2 separate regions of the Homo sapiens genome follow, and region 1 is linked to region 2. The links are contacts of gene promoters, found by promoter capture Hi-C in human tissues and cell types (Jung and others, 2019). All regions are on one chromosome and are shown on one strand. Each heading gives the region's core, a stretch centred on a gene start or on the middle of the fragment in contact. The rest is flanking DNA. Distances are from core to core; before and after follow the strand shown.

What was found. Contacts are between HindIII fragments. The study calls those that stand out against the background at their distance.
Region 1: a fragment that was not itself captured here is called in contact with the fragment with the promoter of NRXN2 in region 2 in 4 of the 25 tissues and cell types used here (dorsolateral prefrontal cortex, lymphoblastoid cells, pancreas and 1 more).

What each region holds. Positions count from the first base shown.
Region 1 is chr11:65,275,588-65,282,857 of GRCh38, reverse strand. It overlaps POLA2 (DNA polymerase alpha 2, accessory subunit), which reads right to left. Exons shown (of 18, transcript NM_002689.4): 5 at 6,860-6,966; 6 at 3,935-4,128; 7 at 3,232-3,320; 8 at 1,711-1,866; 9 at 1,126-1,188; 10 at 337-379. Among named protein-coding and RNA genes, the nearest start is that of POLA2, 17 kb to the right of the region's middle. RefSeq lists an enhancer at 2,389-3,588. The HindIII fragment of the contact is 6,666 bases long and covers 1-4,583 here.
Region 2 is chr11:64,720,151-64,727,846 of GRCh38, reverse strand. NRXN2 (neurexin 2) reads left to right here and starts at 4,650. Exons shown (of 23, transcript NM_015080.4): 1 at 4,650-4,876. It overlaps RASGRP2 (RAS guanyl releasing protein 2), which reads left to right. Exons shown (of 17, transcript NM_001098671.2): 16 at 487-551; 17 at 716-936. The coding sequence ends at 545. RefSeq lists enhancers at 1,712-2,550, 3,760-3,809 and silencers at 4,190-4,489, 4,476-4,770. The HindIII fragment of the contact is 11,757 bases long and covers 1-6,833 here.

The DNA of each region.
Region 1 (7,270 bases), core at 1-2,500, 560 kb before region 2:
CGCATCTGCCCATGCTGCATGTAAATAAATTCTTTTTGAAATCGTACATCTTTTCCTTTCCAAGGCAACCTTCAAAAATACCTGTTAAACATTAGTCTTTAAACAACATGCTTCATGTAGGCAGAACTCAGGCGACAGCACGACCAACGCTCACTGGGCTCAGACCAGGGGTCTTGTGACAAAAAACCTACGAACTCATGATGGTGGCGCCCTCACTGCTTGGTCACATTGCTCTTCAGCAGCTTCTGCAGCTTTCTTGGGCTTGGGAAACTGCACTCCTGGACTCATGTCTACCATCCTCATTGTTGGCAAAACAATATTTGAACCGAAACTCACCTGCATCCTCTTCAGTGGGCTGATAAAATGGAAGTGGCACACCCTAAAAACAGGGGAAAAGCTCAAGTAAGGTCTTGCGCCAGGCATCACCTTGGTAAGGAAAGGGGAGGGCACCAGGTTGGGGGTGGTGCAGGTGTGTGATGGGAGGACAGTGGGGAGGAGCGAGAGGGCAGGGGAAGGATGTGCCTCTGTCTTGCTCCCTGGATCTGATGGGACCTGCCATTTTTCTATACTGCTCAGAGGGCAAAGAAACCCAGGTAATGGGAGGTCACTACTCAATTGTCATAAAATACCCAGCAACAAGTGGGAGCAAAACAGGTGCCTAAAGTATCAGTGTACTTCTAGGCAAGGATGGGAGAGAATGGTTTCTTGCTACTTTTCCTGGCATTCTACGAAAATCTCTGGAGGATTGTTGCCTAGAGCAGGGATAGGTAACCTTTCGGCCTCTGGGCCAAATTTGGCTGCAGCCCACTATTTAAATAAAGTTTTATGGGAACACAGCCACAGTCATCTGTTTAAGAGTCCTCTATGGCTGCTTTTGTAGACAAAGGCAGAATTGAGTCATTGTGACAGAGACCATATAGCTACAAAGTCTAAAAGAGTTACTGTCTGGCCCTTTATAGAAAGGGTTTGCTGACCCCTGGCCTAGGGGTGGGTTCCCACTTACAGATGGAGAACTGACTAACAAATAAATGGGCTCCTAAAAAGGACCAGTTTCTAGAACAGACAGCTTCCAGACATACTTTGTCTGAAGCAAACCAAGAGGCAAGTGGGGGTACTGCTGTGTACCTCGTAGAGTTTGGTGGCAACAAGTTTCCTACCAGTGGTGTTGATTCCTTCCATAATTACAACCTGAAAGACAAAAACAAACAGGATTGCTAAGCAGTGGAGATCAATGAGGTCTGGAATACATTATTTTGAGGCAGTTAAAAGCATTGTCCAACTACTCTCATTCTGTAATCATAAACTTAGGGCATTTTTGTAGAAAACGAATTAAGGGCGTTGCATTAGTAATAATAATTATGCTCTATATAAGTGATCTAATTTTCACAACAATCCTATGAGGTAAGAATTATTATTTCCATTTTGTGAGTGAAGAAACTGTAGTTTAGATGGTTAAGTACCTTGTGCACAGTCATGCACCTCATGGAGCGGGGAGTTGGGATTTGAGGCTGCGCAGTCAGGTCCCAGAGCCTGGGTCAGAGCATGGGGGAAACAGGAATCCCAACAGTGGTGTCTGCTCTGGGGCATGTGCTCCAGCTGCACCCCATGGCAGCAGAGACAGGAACTGAGGAGCAGCTGCGCATGGCACAGCACCTACACTACAGGGGTAAAGAGTGCGCCTGCATTCTGGTGGAACTCCTCCAATCTCACCTGTCCAGGAAACAGAGAATATTCCTTAAGCTCAGATAAATCCACTGGAATTTGAGCACCCGAGGAATGTTCCCGGTCTCCCTCGAGAATCACTGACTTGTTGTTCAGCTTCCCGTTGCTATCACAGCCAATCTGGCCCAGCAGAGTGACAGGCTCCTACCAAAGGAAGGTCACAGCATAAGAATGACAGTCTTTGGAGCAGGAGCTCAAAATCTGAAGTCGATAGGGTGAATAGCAAAACAAACTGCAAACAACAAATACATTTCTTGGCAGGGCATTGCTTTGACCCTGAGGTGACTACCGCGTCATCACTGACTCTCAGGATGGAAGAACTCTGAAAGGGCATCTTGTCCACCCATCCACCCAGCACTTGAGCCTTCCTAGGAGGCTGCCTAAGTGTGAGCATCTCTAGTGTAGGGGAACTTGCCCCTGGATGCCTACCCCACCCTGTCCTCACCACCCCAGGGCAGCCCACTGCATCTTTGGGCAGCTATAACTACTTAATAATAGCTAACATTTCTTGAGCTTACTAAATACCATGCACTGTTCTAAAATGTATTCTTAGGCATTTTATATGTATTAACTCATTTAATCCTTGCAACAACCATCGGGTGGATATTACTGTATCCATTTTACAGATGAGGAAAACAAGCAACAGAAAGGTTAGATAATTTAGTCAAGGTCAAACTGTGGGTGAAGCTTGGGTTTGAAACCAGAAATTTGGCTCTAGAGCCATATCCTTAGCCACATACCATACAACCTCTTAACAGGAAGTTCTTTATTAATTGAGCTAAAATCTCTGTCTCCATGGCTTCCTCTGTTCTGTTCCCACTCTTGGGAGAAAACAGAGGAAGTCTCATCTTTCCCAGTGATTGTGCCTCCCTGCCTTCCCTCAATTACTTCCTTCCAAGTCCTCTAACACTTCCTTCTATGACACAGTTCTGCATCACTTCCCCAACTGATCATTCTTTGAATGTAAACATTGACAAAGGTACTTTAAAGAAACTTCTAGAATATATTTCCCCTTAGATTAGAAAACATTCTAGAGAGAAAGCACTGGTATATATGCCAGATTAAACTATGATATAAAGATACTATTGGCAGCAGTTTGTCTATAACAAGAGACCAAACCAGGGGAGAGACTGTGAGTCATTGTCCAGAGAACAAGATTCTGAAAACCCCACCGTCGCTGCTGTCCTTTTATCTCGATACGTGAATGCTTCTATTTGTGGGAAATCCCCGGGGAGCTACCTGACTCACCACCAAGGGAAACAAGGCCTTGAGTCTCTGCTTATGTGCAAGACTCTAATCCAAGTGGGAAGAAAATCACTCTCTGGCCACAAAACCAGACAGCACTTACAAATCTTTCTTCAGAAGGGCCCATTTTCCCAAATTCAACCAAGACAGATGTTCAAACTAGAACACAGACAAGAAGTGAAAAAGGAAGCAAGAAGGATGCCTCTTGGTCATCGATTTAAAAACGTAATATTAATTAGTGAGAACTATTAGAACAACTCTTACCTGTGCTGGGGCTAGCAAAGGAGTGAAAGCTTCAATCTTGTAATGTTCCTTGAGTTCGCTGCCAAGTTCTTCTATCTTACAGGTCAGAACTACAATCCCAGAAGTGGAAAAAAGTATTATGTTTAAGACATTTCACTTGCCAAGAAGAGAAAATACAGCACATTGTAAAATATTAAAGTCAGTCATTTTACAGAAGCAGGAAGGGTGCCTGGACATCTGGCCAGTTTAAACCTTCTAAAACCTTTGCCAATTTTCCGATATTTGGTTGCTGAATCTGGCCTTCCATCTGGCCACAGGAGACCCCATAGCACAATTCCAGGGAATCAGCATGAACCCCACCCCATCTCCAAGTCTGCCCTTTACTCAAGTCCTCACTGAGGTTTTAGGCAAGTCAAGGCCAACCTGAAGAAGGCTTCTAACGAAGGAACCATGAATATCTTTAAGTTGAATTCCTTTACATCGTTCAAGTTTTTGCTGCTGGGAATGGTTATGTGCGTTTTAGCAAAGTGAAGTGACTTGGGGCAATCACTGATAGTATTGCCCGTGTCCCTCCATTACTAGGGCTTCCATGAGGACATCTACCAACTCATACATTGAAAGGCAACCTTGGAACTTGTTCTACCAGCCTAGCTGAAGCTTTGTTACTCTACACCCTTCTAGGTGGTTTTATATCCACCAGAATTTCAAAGGGAAAAACAATCACCTTCTCGAATGTCTGGGAGCTTCTGAAACATGGATTTGTAGCTCCCAGTTAGTGCCTCTGGACATCCCAAGACCTTCAGGCTGATGTTTCCAGCTCCTCCTCTCCCAGACCAAGATACTCCCTGTGCTAAGCCGAAGGAGGTAACCACTTCTCCTCGGTTACTTCGTGAGTTGTATTTCTGGGAGGGAGTAGCACTAATTGGAAGCAAAACAGGTTAATATTACTGTGTTCATATCTAAAGGGAGAGAAGAATAAAATGAGGTTACCTTTGGAAATGGGGACTGGAGAAAAGGAAGGTGGCCTCATAGTTTATAAATTGAATCAGTTTAATGGGGTTGGACATACCCAGACCTTTAAGGAATTTCAGGAATGAAGGGCTGAGGAATACCAGGCTGAGGAATACCAAACATTTTTAGAGAAGTTTAGAGACAGAAACGTATTTTAAAAAGTTGTCGTTCTCTTGGCATTAAAACTAAGCAAGGCAAAAAGATCCCCAGATTCTGAATTGATTAAAAGGCAAACTTTAAGTCCCATTTTTTTCTTCTCATGAATTTTTAGCATTTATTGGAACATCATCTGAGCCTGCAACTGTGGATAAGCTAAAACTTGCTGAGCATATATAAAAACTCACAATATGGTTCAAGGTAGAAACAACAATAAAATGAAATTCAAATTAATCAATTTTCCCCAGTGTCTATGGAGGTGGGTAAGTAATGAATTAACAGTCTGGTGATGTGCAAACATTCCCATTTTTCTAGGCTCAACTGCCAAGTTCTCACATTTCCACTCCCTGACTGGTAAATTATACCTCTAAGAACACATGGATATTGCTGATCTGCTTAGATGACAGTGAGGTCTTCTAATCCTCTGGTTGTAAACACGCCGTACAGAGAGGTCTATTTAAAACAGGCTTTGTTTAATGCACTGAAACTCTGCGGGAACCAGTTTTATGTGGGGCACCATCGCAATTAATGCCATCATTCTTTCTTTTCACAGCCTACAGAAAATGAGCTCAATTAATTATCTCAATCTCCAGTGCCACCTCTACGTGAATAGTTTAGAAGTTACTTTCATACATTACAAAACCAGTTTCTGCTGTCAGCTTTATTAGTGTGCATTAAAAAATGACTAGGCAGCATTTTGCCAGCTTCTCCAAGCTCTTCCCTGGGAAGCTCCATGAGCCATCCATTACAGCAGGCCCTTTAATGCAGCAAGATGCTCACATGAGGACAGTTGTAAACAGATCTACAGGTTTCAGAGCATTGTATTGACATTTGGAGAATATAACTCCTGCAATGGTGCTGGCACGTCTATAAGAACCATCCCTACATACCAGGTTGCAAAGATGCTCTTAAGTCTAGAAAGCTTTCTTCCAAAAAGCCTGAGAACTCCCCAAAGCAGCAGTAGACTACCCTAAAGTAAAACTGTCCTTCAAAATCCAATTACTGCCAGGCATGCTGGCTCATGCCTGTAATCCCAGTACTTTGGGAGGCTAAGGCAGGCAGATTGCTTGAGGCCAGGAGTTCGAGACCAGCTTGAGCAACATGGTAAAACCCCATCTCTACAAAAATTATAAAAATTAGCTGGGCTTGGTAGCATACACCTGTAGTCCCAGCTACTCAGGAGGCTGAGGTAGGAGGATCACCTGAGCCTGGAAGGCCAAGGCTACAGTGAGCTATAGTTGTGCCACTGCACTCCAGCCTGGGCAACAGAGTAAAAGCCTATCTTAAAAAAAAAAAAAAAAGAAAGAAAAGAAAAAAAAAATCCAATGACCACTCACCTTGAATGACTGCAGAGCTTCTATCACCACCTTTCTAAAGTGATAGAGCTGAAAAGGCCGAGAGCAGTGGCACATGCTTGACATCCTACACTTTGGGAGGCCAAGGCGGGTGGATCACCTGAGGTCAGGAGTGCAAGATCAGCCTGGCCAACAGGCGAAACCTCGTCTCTACTAAAAATACAAAAATTAGCCAGGCATGGTGGCGAGCGCCTGTAGACCCAGCTACTCGGGAAGCTGAGGCAGGAGAATCGCTTGAACCGGGAGGCAGAGGCTTCAGTAAGCCAAGATGGTGCCACTGCACTCCAGCCTGGGTGACAGAGTGAGAGTCCATCTCAAAAAAAAAAAAAAAAAAAGTGATAGAGTTGAACAATCTTAAGCTCTGGTTCATCTAGAAGTGATCCAAAGTAGAGGTAATGACTCCTGGCAGTTGGTGTTTCCCTGAAGGGTTAATACTACTGCTCCGGAGCCTCATCTTGATGTGGAAACTCCTAAAAACCCATCTACTCAGCAGAGCACTTGCCTATGGAATTCTCTAATATGAGACGTGTCATTTATGGATTTCAAAAAATTACATATGATCTTTGTGGATTTATGTGCAATGGTGGCAGAGGGACAAAATACCAATTAAGTCAGGGCAGAGTCACAGTGACAAGAAAACTCTCAGAAACTAGTTCTAACCTGACTTGGAAACAATAAACAGGTTATGAAACATTATGAACAAAGATATGTGCTTTTCTTTAAAAAAAAAAACTTTAGATGAAAAGAAAGAAAAAGAAACCCAACAAAACACAAACAGAAGCAGGTGGAAACCTACTTGCCTCTACTGACAAGACCTGTTAAGACTCTTAGACTTCTGAATAGACAGGTTGTTTTCAATACAAGATATCAGTTCCCGATCTAGGAAATGAGCCCTAGAAAAGTGGGTGGAAAGTGAGTTTCCTTAATTACCGTAAGAAACAGTAATTTTCCACAAAGAAAAGGAGAGCAAGGAAGGCAGAGAGCAATAGGCTTTCAAGCCAATTCACTGCAGAGGTACATGCCCACCTATAGTTAATTAATAACTCTGCTGTTAGCCTTCCTCAGATAGCCAGAGAAAGGGGAGGGGAGGCCAGCTTTATGGCACTTGAATGAATTATGATCCATACCTTGGAGAGAAACTTGACGGTGAGAGTAGCTGATGGGGGCTACGAGTTGACACACTCCTTTTTGTTAGGGGGGTTTCTGGGGTAGAGATAGCTCGCTTCTGAGAACCCTAGGGAAAAAAAAGGAAAACAAAATCTCAGTCCTACTAGACCCAATACTAATTAAGTGTATAGTACCTTGGAAGAAAAGGGAGAACATGTCCAAACGAAGGCACAAAATAGGACTGGGTGGGTTCTCTTCTTAAGGCCCCATCATCCAAGCATAATCTCAAAAAGAAATCTTCAACAACTGTAACCAACATTCAGGACACTGTCCCTATTTTGAAGGCAATTACGAGAAAGCAAACATTTTCCAAAAAGGACCACCAGGCTGGTAATGTGTCCTGTCAAATCCTTCATATGTTTACTTTCTGT
Region 2 (7,696 bases), core at 3,401-5,900:
ATAGAAAAAGAGCCTCAAAAATTGGGCTGAGGCCGGGCATGGTGGCTCACGCCTGTAATCCTAGCACTTTGGGAAGCCAAGGTGGGTGGATCACCCGAGGTCAGGAGTTGGAGACCAGACTGGCCAACGTGGCAAAACATCATCTCTACAATACAAAAATACAAAAATTAGCTGGGCGTGGTGGCAGGCGCCTGTAATCCCAGCTACTTGGGAGGCTGAGGCACGAGAATCGCTTGAACCTGGGAGGTGGAGGTTGCAGAGAGCCGAGATTGCGCCATTGCACTCCAGCCTGGGCGACAGAGAGAGACTCTGTCTCAAAAAAAAAAAAAAAAAAAAAAAATTGGGCTGTGAGGTCATGCAGGGAATTGATTTTTGGTGGGTGGGTCTGCTTCTGGGATGATGTGGATGCCTCCCGTGGAGAGGGGAAGGGTTGATGAAGTCCCAGGGACCTGGAAGTGTGTTCTGCAGCAATCCCCCTCCCAGCAGAGATCCGTGAGGAGGAGGTACAGACGGTGGAGGATGGGGTGTTTGACATCCACTTGTAATAGATGGTGAGTCCTCCCACAGCTGGCACCAGAGCTCCCCACTGAGGGCTGGGGGGGAGCTGGGGAGTATCAGGGAAATGGGTGCTTTATCCAAATGGCTCCAAGCCAGGTGGGCTACTACCTTGTTGTTAGGGGGGTGTCTTCCTCACAACCTGTTTTTCTCTTCCCAGCTGTGGTTGGATCAAGGACTCATTCCTGCCTTGGAGAAAATACTTCAACCAGAGCAGGGAGCCTGGGGGTGTCGGGGCAGGAGGCTGGGGATGGGGGTGGGATATGAGGGTGGCATGCAGCTGAGGGCAGGGCCAGGGCTGGTGTCCCTAAGGTTGTACAGACTCTTGTGAATATTTGTATTTTCCAGATGGAATAAAAAGGCCCGTGTAATTAACCTTCACCATCAGCGCCTAGAATCCCGGGGGGTAGGGGGATGGTATACTTTACAGGATGACAATCTTGGGAGCTAGAACTTTGTAGCCAGAGAAACTTGGGAGGTCTGGAATCTCATGTGTCTGGAGTCTTGGGGAAGAGAATCTTAGAAGCAGAAAACCTTGGAACATAAGAATCTTGGGGAGGGTCTAGGATCTTGAGGAGACCAGATCCTTGGACATCTAAAACTTGAAACTAGTAGGTCTGCACCCGAGAATTGCAGGGCCAGTCATGCATACCCAAAGCCTTCAGCCCATGGCCGAAATTCCCTTGCTGGACAGGGGGCCTTTCAGCCCCTGCTTGGACGCTTCCAGTAACAGGGCCCTCACTGCAGGAATCGTGGGAGGGAGAGGGGCAGCACAGAGTTGCTGGCTGTCGGGGAAGGGAGGGAGGGCCCTGGGCAGTCCGAGGGCCCTGCTGGGCTTGTGCCTCAGGGTGGGGGCTGCACTCCTCCGCCTTGCAGCCTCCTGGCCTGGTGCTGCTGCCAGCCGGAAGGACAGTGACTTCCAGAGGAAATGCATATTGATCCTGCTTTCAGCCTCCGGTGGTGGCTTCTCCCAACCCAGCTCTTCCCTCCTGAGCCTGCAGCACGGAGGTTTTGGGGGTCACTGCTACCTAAAGAAGGCTAAGGCCACTTCTGAGGCTGGTCTGGGAGTTTACTAAAGGTTCTGAAGCTGGGCCGGGCTGCCCCTGGGATCAGGAGACTCCAGACAGCAGTCCTGACAATGGGAACTACCTCCTCAGTCCCCCAAACTGGGAGGTGTCCCACAGCAGCTGTAGGATTGTCCTAGGGGTGGAGACCTGAGCACCTTCCACTCCAAAGCACAGTATCTGTGGGCCTGGCAGTGGCCTCAGTTCCCCCATGAGTGCCCCGGTCCCCCACCCCAGGGTTTCCCCACATCACATCCATCCCTGCTTTGAGACCCCACTCCCCCTGGCCTGTTCTTTATTTTGGGTCACTCCCTTCTCTTTCCTGGTCATATCTCTCCTGCAGGCCTACCCTGTGTTGGGCCCCCCAGCCCTGTCTCTGCATCGGGTGCCCCCCTGCCCCTCCTTCTGTCCTCAGCCCCCTCCGCCCTTCCCCCTCTTGAGGCTGTAATATCCGTTTCACGATTTGGGGGCTGAGTTGCTATAACAACAGACGGCGATTGTGTTGTGAAGAGCAGCTCGCTCCTGTGCCGCCTGCCTCCTGTGCTGCCTCCATCCCTGCAGCCCAGTCGGTTCCTCTTGGCTCCTCTCGTCACTACCCTCCAGTTCCAGTCTGGCCTCTTCCTGGTGTGTGTGTGTGTGTGTGTGTGTGTGTGTGTGTGTGTGTGTATGCATGCATGCATATGTGTGTCCAGGTCTGCCTGCCCGGGATGTGACAAGTAGCGGTCTTCATGGTTGCATGTGTCTGAATTTGGTGTCTGAGCTTCACATTGTATGCGCCTGTGTGCATGTGTGTGCATGGACATGCATGCTGTATCTGCTGTGTTTCCCCTCCCCCATGTGTCCCCACTGGCCTTTGCACATGGGAGAAGGGCATGTGCTCAGCATATCACTCAACTGTCCACATTGGGTGGGTACCTGTGTGTGGTGTGTGTGTGTGTGGGGTGTGTCTTGAAGTGGCAGGTCCCAAATGCTTAGGCAATCTGAACCTTGGACCTTGCAGAGAGGAGAGATGTCCCTGTAGGTGGGAGGGACAGGGAGATGCAGCAGCTGCCCGGTGACCTTTTCTGCCCTTGATGGGCAAAGCTGGGGGTAGGGAAAGGAGACAAGTGCTCATACTTACCTCCCTCCCTGCCCAGGCTCCTCTGTAAGGGTCTGAGTCTGTCTCTGTGAGCCATTGCATCTGTCTGTCTATGCCCTGATGCCTGGATGGACAAGGGGTGTGTGTGTGTGTGTGTGTGTGTGTGAGTGTGAGGAGGCTGCAGGAAGAGGAACAGTGGGGGATGGGCAGGAAAGTGGGCTGTGGGGTCAGGGAGGCGATTTCGCATTCATAGGCCCTGACGCAGCAGTTCCATTCTCTGGCTCCTTCATTGGCTTTGGTGGGGATGCCCTGGGGGTCTCTCCAAGGTCAGAGTGGGCCCTAAGTCTGGGACCTGGCTTAGGGATCACCCTTCTCGACTCCTAGGAAAAACTCCTTGCAGCCTGGGTCCCCCTCTTACCCCTTCACAGGCTGGGGAAGGAGTTTCCCACCCGGGGGGTTGGTGTCCGCATTAAGCCACTCAGTAATTGACCACTCTCTTTGAAGTGCCTGGGCAGGGGTCCAGGATGACTGTGGGCAGGTCCCCTGGGTGCAGCTGTTCTGGGCATGCATTAATTGCCTGGTGTAGGTACCTGTGTGCACAAGTGTGTGTGTTCTTGGGCAGTATATGCTTCCTGTGGGTGTGTTACCATGGTGGGGCATTTCTGCAGGTGTTCTTATGTGTCTCTGGGAATGCCCAGTGTTCACAGATATGTGTGCATGGCTGTGAGTGCCCCAATGTCCATGCATTGGTGGTTGAATGTAAGTGTTCTTGCATGTTGCCTCTGGCTAAGGAAGTGCCAACTACCACCAGCTGTGCAGATCACAGACCCTGCAACAGAAACCAGGGTCCTGGAGTGAGCTGGCAGAATGGTCTGGCACACATACACACACACACTCTGTCTCTCACTGTCTCATTCAGCAGCCCAGTGACCAACCTCGGGGTATACACACTAAGTGCCAGTGTGTGTACACTTTTATTGGCGGAGTGAGTGAAGGGTGTCCCCCAGTCCCCCACACTCATACACATGCACAGTGATGCATGTACCCTTACAGGAGAGACCTGCGCCCCCCAGCACCACTCTAACTGAAACTCATGGATGGGAGGAGGAGAACAGAGAAGGGGGCTGCTGCCAGGTGCCCTCAGTCACCAGGCATGTGCAGGCGCAACCCTGCCCCCACACCTACTCGTACCTCGGTCCAGGGTTCCAGGCAGAACTGAGAGTTTGGCCTCAAACTCTGGGATTCCCATGAGGCAGGACTGGGAAACCCCCAAGTTCCTAGGTCTACCCCGCCCCCATCTCTGCCTTTCCTTCCCCCACCGCCTCCGTCTTTATCCCAGCAAAGCCCCTTCCTCTTCAGTTCTGGGGGCTCCAAGCCAGGGGCCCTCCGGACGGTGGGAGGTGGGGGCCAGGCTACCGACTGGAAAAAGCCCCCAGCAGCCATGGACCCACCGAGTCCCCCTTCTCTAGGCTCCTCGAAGCCCGGGCCCGCCCCTGGGGGTAGCCAGCAGAGGGCGCTGCGGCCCAGGCCCCGCATCAGCCCTGCTCTCGCGGCGTCCCAAGTCGGGGTCCACAGCCTCTCCTTCGGCTTGTCCCAGCCCCGCGCTGCGCGAAGACCTGCTGGCCGTGGGGGGAGGGTGCGGGACCCAAGGCCCCGAACTAAGGGGCGAGGGGCGAGGGGCGAGAGTGCTTGGGTTCCCGGAAAAGACACTGAGGCCGGGTTTGGGGCCCGCCTGGTTGGGGGCCCGGGCGCCCGAGAACCTCGAGAGGCTGGGAGGAGCGCGGGTGCTGGGGCCGGGACGCCTGGGTCCCGCGCGAGGGAGGGAGTGGGCCTGTGGAGCCGCTGGACTGGCGGCTTCTGAGCCCTTGCATTGGCTGCGCTGCTCGCCCGTCAGCGCAGCGTGGTCCAATGCGCGCGTCTCGGGGGCGGGCACTGGTGCTGATGCTGCCGTCAGTCGGTGTTGCAGGGATGCGGCGGCGGGAGCAGCCGCCCTGACTCGCGGAGCATCCTCCTCGGAGAGGCACCGCGGCGGGGCGGGCGGGCGGGCGGGGACGCGGCGGGGAGGGAGAGAGGCGCGAGGCGGCAGACACCGCTAGCCCTGGCTCTGCCACCCGTCGGAGACGGGGCGGCCCTGTAGCTCTGCTACCCACCCTCCAGCTTCTGGCGCCCCGAGAACCAGGTAAAATGGGGGGGGGGGGGCGCTGCGGCGGAGACGGGCGGGGGGCGGGAGCCGATCGGGGGAGGGGAGCGGATCGGAGGGGGCGAGGGAGGCAGGACGGATGAATTGGGGGGCGGGGGCGCCGCGCTGAGAGGGCTGGCCCGGTGACAGCGAGGAGGCAAAGCCGCTGGGGGCTTGGGGGTCGGAGGCTCCTGTGGAAGGGGCACTGGCCCTGAGAGCTGAGGAGAATGGGGAGGGGTGGGAGGAAGGGTCTTTGGGGGAAGGGATGGAGAGAGGAGGGGCATCCAGAGGACTTAGAGGGGGTTCTTAAAGGGGGGTCCCCAGTCTGTGCTAGCCCCAGAGGCTTGAAGCAGCGCCGGGCCAGAGGAGCTGTTGTGTTCTGGAGGGTCTAACCAGCGAGAAACTGGGCTTCGTGGGAGGAGAGGAGAGGGGGCTGGAGAAGAGAGAGAAGTGGAGAGGGAAGGAAAGGGGCCAGGCCAAGGGCTTCGTCCTGAGGGGACCCACTGAGGACCAGGCTTTCCTGGGGGATGGGAGCCAAGGGGAGAAGAGGTTATTGGGAGAGAGCAGAGGGGAATGTGCCAAGGTGCTCCAGGCAGAGATGGGTCTGTGCTGGTGGAGAGCTGGGAAAGATGGGGTCTGAGGGAGAGGAGCGGAAGCTTGCGGGGGAAGGCTGGGGGTGATGAGACAGGGAGACTGGGAAATCAGTAGGAGGGGGCTTTGCTGGGGTGGGAATGCGCTGGGGGCGGTGACAGGGTTCTGGTCAGAGAGTGCTGCAGGGGGAGAGGAAGCTGCAGGGCCCTTGGCTTGCTCCCCCACCCCTAAAGAGGAAGGGACCATTTCTCATGTCCCAGCCTCCTCCCCCAGCTGAAGCAGCAATCTTCCCTGGGGTCTTTGGGTTGGGGTATGAGCCCTTGAACCCTTGATGGGCTTTTGGGGCACAATTGGCTTTGGGGTGCTGTTGTCTCCTTTACTCTCACCCCCCTCCTGAATCTTGGGAGAGGGCATTCGATGCCTCATTGAGCTAGCAAGGGCTGGGAGGGGCTTTTTCTTGGTGTCTGGAGGTGAAGGAGGAGGCTGTCCACCTGGAATAATGAAATAGATTTTTAGGGGGTGGGTCTTGGGTCCCCAGTCCCTTGGCTGCCCTGGGGGCTTCCAGATAGCCCTGTTTTTTCATGTGTTGGCGGGTGGGCGTCTCTCCTCTTCCATTCATTCTTATCCTTCCCTGTTGTCTACCTTCCCAGTGTCTGGGTGTTCCTTTTGGAGGAGGGTGGACATTAGGGTCTTACTTTCTCTGTCTTCTGCCAGAGAAGGAGAAAGAAAGAAGGGAGAGGGAAGGAGAAGGGGAGGGAGGTCTGCAGTCTGCTAACTGTGAGGCCTTCTGTTTTGTGGGTGCTTCAGCCCCTCAGTCCCTACCTCCTCTTGCTTCCAGGGATGGCTCTAGGGATGCTGGCATCTGAGGTGTGGCTGGATCTTTTGGGAGACAGGGGAGAAGGGTCTGGCTGGGGGCTCTTCATTCATGCTAGAGGAAGTGTTCTCAGACCCATCCTATCCTCAGATCCACAGGGGTGGGCGGGATGGACCAACCAGCCACGGCTGCCGGGCAGTTCTTTCCAGCCCAGGCCTGGGCTGAATCCATATGACATTGGAGTTCTGAGAGGAGGGGCTGGGTGCGCGAGTGGCTGGTGGGGACCCCTCTTTCCTTCCAGGCTCAGTCACTACCCAGGTCCAGCTGCTCCCTCCCGCTTACCCTTGCCAGTGACACAGACACTCTGACAATGATACACGCGCTCGGTGGCACCCACCCAGACACACACCTACACAGGCACACACACCTGCGTACACAATACACCTCCTGGCAGCATACAGCCCACACTCCCCACCCAGAGAGGCTGCCACCTCATGCCTGCCTCCTTGAGACCTCCCCCAGGTGCCTTGCTGCCATGTACACAACACACACACGGCCACTACGTGCCCCCAGAGCCCCCAGCGCAGCACTGCCAGCCCTCACCCTTGGATGCACACAGCCCCCATCCAACCACTCACCTCCCCAGGCTCACAGCCATCGCAGGCACACCTGTGCTTCTTCCTCATACACCTTCAGTCCTTGCAACACACCCTCTCCTTCCAGACACCCCATCCCTCCCAGGTCTACACAGCATGTGGGCACACCCTCCCAGACACACCAGTCCCTGCCCCCCAGCAAGCTCATCCTGAAGTACCATGTGCATGTCTGTCTGGGTGCTGAACACCTTGCCCCAGGCCTTTGTGTGTGTGCACGTGTGTGTGCACACCAGCACATGTTTGCTAACACACTTAATGCTGTGGCTCACCCCCTAAACCTCTCTTCTACTTTCTCTCTCTCTCACTCACTTATCTTTGTACCTTCGGCGCAGGGCCTCCTACCCCTCCTGGCCACAACCACGACCCTTCCCAGTGGAGTCCAGCCCCCACCTACACCTGGTTTCCCTGGGAGCCTTCCCATTTCTAAGTGGCCCCACCCCCCGCATTAATCCTCAGGCACAAGGGCCCCTACACCTGCCTGTGCACTGGAGACACTGTCCTTTCATTCGCAGCTCCCAAGCCCAGCCCCCACGGGGATGCCCCGATTGTGTGTCCTCACACGCCACCCACCTTGCTGCTCCATCTGTTGGTGCAGCTCCCTCGCCCCTGCCCCTTCCACACTGATGGGCCTGTGGGCTCTCGGAGACTCATTCAACAAATAGTCTGGTGCACACTTTCAAGGATGTGTGTGGCACCTTGTTATTTACGAAGCTGCTTCCCCACTGCCACCACCACTGTTTGGCATGGTGGGGTGAGGGT